Regions from separate parts of the Homo sapiens genome. Here all the other regions are linked to region 3. The links are contacts of gene promoters, found by promoter capture Hi-C in blood cells and fetal thymus (Javierre and others, 2016). All regions are on one chromosome and are shown on one strand. Each heading gives the region's core, a stretch centred on a gene start or on the middle of the fragment in contact. The rest is flanking DNA. Distances are from core to core; before and after follow the strand shown. Region 1 overlaps SLC24A3 (solute carrier family 24 member 3). Region 2 overlaps SLC24A3 (solute carrier family 24 member 3). Region 3 holds the start of SLC24A3 (solute carrier family 24 member 3).

Region 1 (2,700 bases), core at 189-2,688, 240 kb after region 3:
TTGATCTTATGACGTTTATTTCTTATCATCACTATTAGGTAACCAGATAAACCTAATGGTTAGATGGATGAGATGTGAAGTTGTGGCAGATGCTATCAGTGCCCTTCCCATGTTGCCTCAGCCTACCCCAGAGGTCACCTGTAGATACTTTTCATAAATGTATGTAAACAGATTCTTGCATCTGTCTCCCTCATGGTATCCTTTAACCATGGAAGTATGCTCAGCATAAACATAGAGAGAGCCGAGAATGTCTGGAAACCAATACACCAGGAGCAATCTTTAATCAGCGAGAGATAAGAGTATAGTAGATAAACCCCAGCCTCTTCACCTCTTCATGGAGCAATAAAAGGTAATTCAGCATCCTCTCTCAGAGCATCCCCAGGAGGATCAAGCCCTAGCTGATGGAGGTAATATGCTCATGAATGTTTGGGCCACCTTCGGGGCTCTGTCTCACTTCCTCACTCCCTTACTGGTGCTTCCTCGGATCACCCCCCTAATTTCACAGTCGCCTTCTGGGGGAAGTCAAATGAAGATGGAGGCTAAATAATTAGAACTACTTGGTTGAGAGGCTAAAATTATAAGTGTCAGTATAATATATAATTGGTTCCTTAAGTAACGTTTATTAGGCGACTATTGTGTACAAGGAACTGCACCCTGTGTTGGATATTTTGACATAGATGAATGAGCTATGAGTTTATAATGTACTGGGGAAGGTAAGGTAAGTACATCCCACCCAGGAAGTCCTCTGTGCTGCCAGGCAGTGAAATCTCCACAAGTCCTATGTTTGCCCTTTTTTTTTCCATCTGTATCTGTAACACGTTTCTTAAAGTTGAAGGAAAGACCCTTTAGAAAAAGAGATTTGGGCCCCACAGTTAGGGTAGCCTTTGGAGGAACACTTATGGCAAGAGAAAGACCTTTTATTCCTTCCAGGAGGAGACATACAACCAGATATGGTTTGGCTATGTCTCCACCAAAATCTCATCTTGAATTGTATTCCCATAATTCCCATGTGTTGTGGGAGGGACCTGGGGAGAGATAATTGAATCGTGGGGGCAGTTTCCCCCATACTGTTCTCGTGGTAGTGAATAAGTCTCATGAGATCTGATGGTTTTATCAGGGGTTTCTGCTTTTGCGTGTTCCTCATTTTCTCTTTGCCTGCTGCCATCCATGTAAGACGGGACTTGCTCCTCCTTGCCTTCCACCAGGATTGTGAAGCTTCCCCAGCCATGTGGAACTGTAAGTCCAATTAAACCTCTTCATTTTGTAAATTGCCCAGTCTTTATTGGCAGCGTGAAAATGGACTAATACACAACCCATTCTTTAAATCTTTCCACATTGCTGTGAGATGGCCAGGATGTCAGTAACCAGGCTGTCACTTCACTGCCCCTCTACAGCTAGCAATGGCTCAGACATCCACTGTCAACTCATGAATCCCAAACCCTAGTCATTGGGCAAGACAGGCTAACAGGGCAAGGAAGTGATTGTGGGTGGTGACTTCCTGCCTTGGGACAGCTTTGACCTGGGAGTCAGTGCAACACACCAGTCACCACCCTGGGCTTATTACACTCCCCAGTACTCAGTCTGGCAGGTACAGTGTACAGTGTGTTCACAGAGATAAAAGATGATACTGTGACTTTGTCCAGAATCTCTGTTAATGACTTGGAAGCTTAAATATTAGAGCCTGAGCTTTCTCTTGGGATTAATATAAGAGGAGGCATGTGCCAGACATGGCTCCTCCGTGAGCTATCTGATGCTATAAAAAGAAAAACTGCAAAGGGCATCCAGAAAAATGTCTGGACCCAAGAAAAAAATGAATAATGTAGTACTTACTGACCTGTGGCCTGGGATGTAAAGGGAAACCCTAATGGCGTAATCCCAGATCCATCAACTGTGGAGTCTCATATTTTATGACCAGTCTTTCTAGTTGTGGTGAGGGGGGAAATGTGGAGGAGGGCAGAGTCTTGCTTTCAGCTCTGCATCTCATTTGCTGCATAACCTGGGGCAAATCATGTTACCACCCTGAGCTGTAACTTTAAAATGAAGGAATTAGGTTGGGTCATTTTCAAGGAACATTTTCTTTTTGCATGATACAAATTCAGACTAAAACAAAAATTATTTATAGTCTACTTACTTTTCACTCAAGATGAAAATGCTTTATTGAATTCCATAAAAGAAAATAGTATTTTTACAATTTAGATGGTTTATTCTACTGAATAGAAAAATGCCAATGACAAAGTCAACACTGCTTTTTAGCCTCTGAAGCATTCACTAGCTGGGAATATTTGAGAAGTGGTACAGTAGTGGAAGCTTTCTAATGTTCTGCCTTAAAACTGGATCTCTGGGCTGTCTTATGAAGCCAAGCAAATCCTGTACATCCTGACAGCCACAAATCACTCATGGGACCAAGGCCCCAACCTCAAATTCCATTTGAGGACTCACATTCCCTGGATCTGTGGTTCTAGCCTGCTGTGAATCCCATCTGGAAGAGGTTGAGGGAGTCAGCTGTGAGAGCTGAGCAGTCCCCAGAGAAAGAACTACACGTGGCTTCTGCAGGAATTACCTTCAGCCTGTGGTAATCGAGAGTGGCAGCTCCAGCTATGAGGTTCAGAGGTGGCAAAGCCTTGGGATTAGGTGGCCCCAGGTGAATCACAGAGCATCTGGAGGACCGTTGATGAATTCCTTCCCCACCTTTTTCCTCCA
Region 2 (2,700 bases), core at 123-2,622, 220 kb after region 3:
AACAAGTGAACTCATTGCTTTAAATTTCAAGGTATTTCATCTGAAGAGGCATCTGGAGGCTGAAAAAAATATATTGAGCATATTATGTAAAAATGTAAATACTGTTTAGAAAGAAATCGATTTTATGTTTCTTGACTTTTCAAATACCATTTGCGCTTTAGTGTTCCACTGGGGGCTGGGGGAAAAGGTAGGTGGATGCAGCCTTGGCCCCAAAAATGAGGTGTGAAGACGCTCCCTGTGAAACAAGCTGCTATCGGGAACCCGGAGTCCATTCCCACTGCCGTGCCTCTGCCTATTACAGGCCCCGCCCTCCGACTTGTCCTCCTCCCAGGCCTGTCCTGGGCTGACCCAGAGAGGATAAAGATCTCTCCTGGAAAAAAGTATTTGCTGGAGGCTGGGAGGAGGGACTCCAGGCAGTGGGAACCAGTGGGACCTGTAGAGGTTGTCTGGAAAGGGGCTTTTATCTCCCGTCAGGGAACAGGCTCTTCATTTCCAGAGGATAGTTTATGTTTCGCTCTGTGTATTCATGCACAACTTTAATATCAGTGGATTAATCCACAGTTTTAGAAGCTTATCAATAATTCTGCTGTCCACACACATATAACAAAACAGCACATTTGCAGTAACACATCAGGGATCTTGCGTTGCTGTGCTCCTCATATTTGAATTACTCAGATAATTGGAAGTCCAACGTTTGGTTTGGACTTATTTCAGTGCAGTCTTTTGAAAATATGTTCTTGCCACCTTGCACTGTGTCTCGTGCACATTCCTCAGCCGTCTCTCCATGCAGTAGCAGCAGCATGAGCCCGGTCTGGTTGTGGGTATTGCAGTTGCTGTTTGTTCCCTTCACGGGTGGCCGTCAGCTTCTACTTCTGTTACCTTCTGGTTTGCCTCAACCAGCTCATTTCACACCAGTACAATTCAATCAGTGTGCTTATTGTTTGCTAGCTTAAACATTCACTGAGCTTGGACACAGCACTCAATCGACACCGTGTTAATACTGTGTGTTAAGTAGGAGTCATTAGACTCTGAGGGACTTCTCAAAAATAAATGTCTGACTGGAGTTCAGGGCACTGTCAGCAAGGGCTGCGAAATTCTAAAATGGGAACAAGGATGTGGAGGAAGTTCCACATTTGCATGTTGGTGTCTAACCACTGGTACTTGCAACAGACATTATTTTCCCCAAAATGATAAAACTGCCAGAGCCACTGAGCAAAGTAAGCTACAGTGTAATTGCTCATGTGAGTTCTCTCCTTTGAGTGGGCAGGATATGGCATGGACCATCCTTAATCCTCATCGGGGAGGCAGAAGAGAAGCAGCCCTAGATTGTAGTTCCGAGTTCTTACCCACTCCAGATTCCATCACTTCTTGGCCACGTGGTGTTGGGTACGTTGCAGCTTCCTTATCTACACCTTCCTTTTCTCTAAAATTGTAGCTATTTAACCTGCCCTGCCCAGGAGGTGGGTGTGAAGAGGCTTTATGCAAGTAATGCAGTCTACAAACATAAACTGTCTTTATCAGTATCGATATCCTTACTTGCAAGTTGGGGATATGGCAAATGTGTAATAGACAAGTTGTGAATTGTGGTTTTGTCAGCTACAGCAAGCATGGGATGCCTTCTTTCCATCTTTAGGTTCTTCCCTCCCCCTCCAGTGTTTCTGCCCAGGAATTTAAAACAGAAATATAATGCTATTTTTTAGAAATCAGAAATAATTTCCCCTCTGTACACTATTAGCAGCCAGAAACTTTCATTTCTCTGAAGGTTACTAAATGCAAAAGAGGTATGAACTGTGTTTAACAAAACAAAAGCAAGCAACTCAACTATCCTCACTGTTCACTCAACCATCCTCCACTATTCTCACCTTTACCTCTGTTATCATTGAGAAAAGAATTGATGTATTGGGTTGACCCAGAGGAGGCTGCTGATATTTGATCACTTCTGGCATGTCATTTTTGTATGCTCAACCTAATTATTTCTGAGAAAAGAGAATTACACCTTTGGTTCAGGATTATCCAGGCAGCATTGCAGCATAATGCTGAAACTCTCATTTTTATGGTGCAAAGCCTTGAAAGAAGCCTATGGAAAGCGTGTGAGTAAATGCAGAGGTAATACACGCACTATCTCTAATACTTTGTATCTACCCCTCATTCAGGAGACACTGTTCTTTCTTGAGTTAAGCTTAGCCCGGGAAGGACACATATTTATGTGGAAGACGATGAGAGTTAGACTTGAATTTACTGTGTCATTTTAATAGACTGCTTCATCTACTTGACAATGAGGTTCTTCCAGGATTATCTTCGAAGCCCTGATGATCTGCTAAATAAATAATGTTCTGGGCCGGCCGACTCTATATATGGTCATCCGAGAGGGCCATAAATCTGTGCTCCTAGGGTAGCAGGAGTTCAGTTGTCCCATTTTTATTTCTAACTGACCCATAAAAGGCATCTTCAGTGTTGCTGATTATGCTCTCCTCATTTGATTTGGAGTTATGTCACCCTAAAGCAGGGAGAATTTCCTCACAATAAATCTCTCATTTTTAATCTCGAGCTACAGTGGGAAAGCCTGTCTGCACAGCTGAGAAAAAAAGAGGAGGGCCTGGGCTGTGATTTAATAGGGTGAAGGGTGGGGAGGTAGCCACCCTAGGGGCTGCACAAAGGCATCTCTGGGGAAGCCGCTGGGAACTGAGTCCCAAGGGGGAG
Region 3 (2,700 bases), core at 38-2,537:
CCCCACCCTCCGCCCCAACAATGGCATCTCCTCCTCAGCCCAGCCAGCAGCCCCAGGCTAGCATCTGGGAAGAGTCCAGGGAAGCCCAATGAGGGAGAGTGGGCTGTGTCTGGGATGGCCAGGGATCCCCTCCAAATGGGCACCTGCGGCAGGTCGTGAGTCCAGCCATCTCTAGGGCAGCCCACACCTTCAGCAAGGAGGGGCAGGAGACCTAGAATGGGGGAAATGGGAGGACTAAGATTCTAACGTTGGAGGTAGGGCAGGCTGGTGTTACCTGCACAAGGCCAGAAGCCTCTTCAGGCCGCCTCTCCAGGGACCGTGCCAGCTGTCCCCACTTCGATCAGCCACAGTATTGGACTTGGTCCAGCACGAACAGAAAGCGAAGTGTGAGCCCAAGACAGAGGGGGGAGCCGGACACCCTTATGGAACTAACAGCCTCTGGGGAGGCCTGTTCCAGATCCCGAGTCGGGCGCACAGGGGGATCCCCGCAAGGGGGCAGAGGGAAACCCGGGAGGCCCGCGAGAAGAGGCGAGGCCAGAGGCTGGGCGCGGGCAGCCAAGCGCACTCGCGGCGCCCCGACTCCAGGTAGCACGTAGAGAGGAGGCTGAAGAGCCCCTCGGTTTTCCGAAAGTTTCCAGCGAATCCTTCTTGGTGAAGATCGGCCTCTGGGAGGCAGCGTGTGTGCTTCCCGAGAGGGGGCCCCCTGCGCCGTCCCTCTTCCCCTGGCACAGAAGGGTTGAAGGACTGCACACAGGGATCCCTCCCCAGCCCAGTCTCCTCCCAGCGCGCCCCCTCCCCGCCATGCCGGCCAGCGCCGGGCTGTGTCCCAGGCACTGCCCCCCGCCAACCCTGGCCCGACCAGCCTCGCCGCTGCAGGCTGCCGGGAGCTGCGCTAGCTCATGCTCCCAGCTCGCTCGGTGCTCCCTGTTCGCTCCGGCCCGGCCCCGGCCCCCATCGCGCCGACCATGGAATAGGCGGGCGGCCCCGCGAGGCGCTCCTGCAGCCGGCGAGGCCAGAGCCAGTCCGGGGTGGCTTTGCCAACCGGCGGAGTTGGCCAGCGGCGGGCCCTCCTACCGTCGGTCCTTCCCCGCTCCTCCTCCTCTGCCCCCTCCGCCCCCGCCTCCCGGCCGCCCCCGCCGCCCCCGCCGCGCCGCCGCCCCAGGCCGAGCGCGGGCGCGGAGCGTGGGAGCCATGGCGCGCGAGGAGGAGCGGGACCCCGAGCGCCGGGAGGCGGCGGCGCGGGCGAGCGGCGAGGAGGAGGAGGAGGGAGGGGAGGAGGGACTGGGCGATAGCGACGAGGAGGGCGACGACGAGGAGACGGGCAGCGGCGAGGAGGAGGAAGAGGAGGCGGAGGCGGCGGCCGGGTGGGAGCGCAGCGAGGACGCGCGGCTGCTGCGCGCAGGGCTGCCTCCTGCCGCTGTCCCCGCCGCGGCCGCCCGCGACAGGAGCGGCCGCCGCCCGCCGAGGCCGCCGCCCGGCCGCCCGAGGATGCGGCCGTCCGGCGACGAGGACCGCGCGCGTCGCCGCCGCCGCCGCCGCCGCCGGAGGGACCTTCTGCTGAGCCAGCTCTGCTTCCTGGCCTCGGTGGCGCTGCTGCTCTGGTCGCTGTCGAGCCTGCGAGAGCAGAAGGGTGAGTGCACGCTGCCTGCCCCGAGTGGGCGCTGCGGCTCCGGCGGCTCGGGGCTCCCGGGGCTGGGCGCGGGGCTCCTTCGGGCGGCCCGGCCGGAGCCCCAGGATAAGCGGGCTGGGTTGGCGGGGGGAGTGGGATGCCAGGCACGAGGACTCCCCCTGCCCCACGCAGAGGCATGGAGGTGGGGACCCTGAGCGCCAGCAGCCAGCAGGCTTAGGCGTCTGGCCGCCCTGGGAACATTTACCTGTGCCCGCCTGTGCGCTGCTTACTCGCGAGCTGGAGGTACTGCTGGTGGCGGTGGTGGGGAGTCTTACTCTCCATCAGCCCCCAAGGCCAGGGATAAAGTTGTGGTGGTAGACCCGGCACCTGTGCAGGTGACCACCTGTATACTCCTTGGCTTGCTGAAGGATTCAAGGGGACTGCTTAACACACAGTTGTCCGTATGTTCTCCATCCAGAGAGCAGGCGGGATGGCCCGAGTAGAGAGCTCTTCAACCCCCTTTCAGAACAGGTGCCGGGAACTTCAGGGAGAGAAAAAGTGTTGGCCCTCCAGCTATGGGCTAGTAGGGGACTTGTTCTCCTAAAATGACCACTCACTGGGAAGACAGGGAATTCTTCCTCAGAGGTCCCTTTTGCAGAGCTGCTGCTGTGGAAGAAATGGTTTGCAGTGGACCACGCATCACACTGTCCGCTCCTCTACCGGTGCTCTGCGCAAAGTCTGCCCTTTAACCCACAACTTTTGTCTTGTCTTTGTCCTTGGCCTTTCTTGAGCTGAAATAGATCTTGTGTGCTCCCAACAGTTGTCTGCTGAAACAGCTTCGATCCTGGGATTCAGCTGTCTATAAAATGAAGGAAAAACATGGGAGAATAACTGTTGTAAAATGGTTTTATATCCCGGCCGTGGAAGTGGCACGATTAGTGGGAAAACAGCCATGTAAAGGGTTGTGAGAAAGAAACAAAACAAAACAAAACAAACAAACAAAAAAACAGTTACAAGTATGTGCTGTGGTGTTGAGGTCGACGTAGCTCTAATGCAAGATGTCATGAGGTGCAGAATAAAGACATTTTGAT

What was found. Contacts are between HindIII fragments. The CHiCAGO score rates a contact against its expected background, and 5 or more counts as called.
Region 1: a fragment that was not itself captured here is called in contact with the fragment with the promoter of SLC24A3 in region 3 in 1 of 17 cell types (megakaryocytes); the score reaches 8.7 in megakaryocytes.
Region 2: a fragment that was not itself captured here is called in contact with the fragment with the promoter of SLC24A3 in region 3 in 4 of 17 cell types (M1 macrophages, M0 macrophages, megakaryocytes and 1 more); the score reaches 7.5 in M1 macrophages.

The regions. Positions count from the first base shown.
Region 1 is chr20:19,455,296-19,457,995 of GRCh38, forward strand. All of the region lies in intron 2 of SLC24A3 (solute carrier family 24 member 3), which reads left to right. Among named protein-coding and RNA genes, the nearest start is that of SLC24A3-AS1, 170 kb to the left of the region's middle. The HindIII fragment of the contact is 451 bases long and covers 1,214-1,664 here.
Region 2 is chr20:19,427,361-19,430,060 of GRCh38, forward strand. The region is part of intron 2 of SLC24A3 (solute carrier family 24 member 3); the gene reads left to right. Among named protein-coding and RNA genes, the nearest start is that of SLC24A3-AS1, 140 kb to the left of the region's middle. The HindIII fragment of the contact is 1,609 bases long and covers 569-2,177 here.
Region 3 is chr20:19,211,355-19,214,054 of GRCh38, forward strand. SLC24A3 (solute carrier family 24 member 3) reads left to right here and starts at 1,288. Exons shown (of 17, transcript NM_020689.4): 1 at 1,288-1,630. The coding sequence starts at 1,489. LOC101929547 (a long non-coding RNA gene) reads right to left here and starts at 1,114. Exons shown (of 3, transcript XR_007067549.1): 1 at 275-1,114. RefSeq lists a silencer at 1,639-1,688. The HindIII fragment of the contact is 7,870 bases long and covers 1-2,700 here.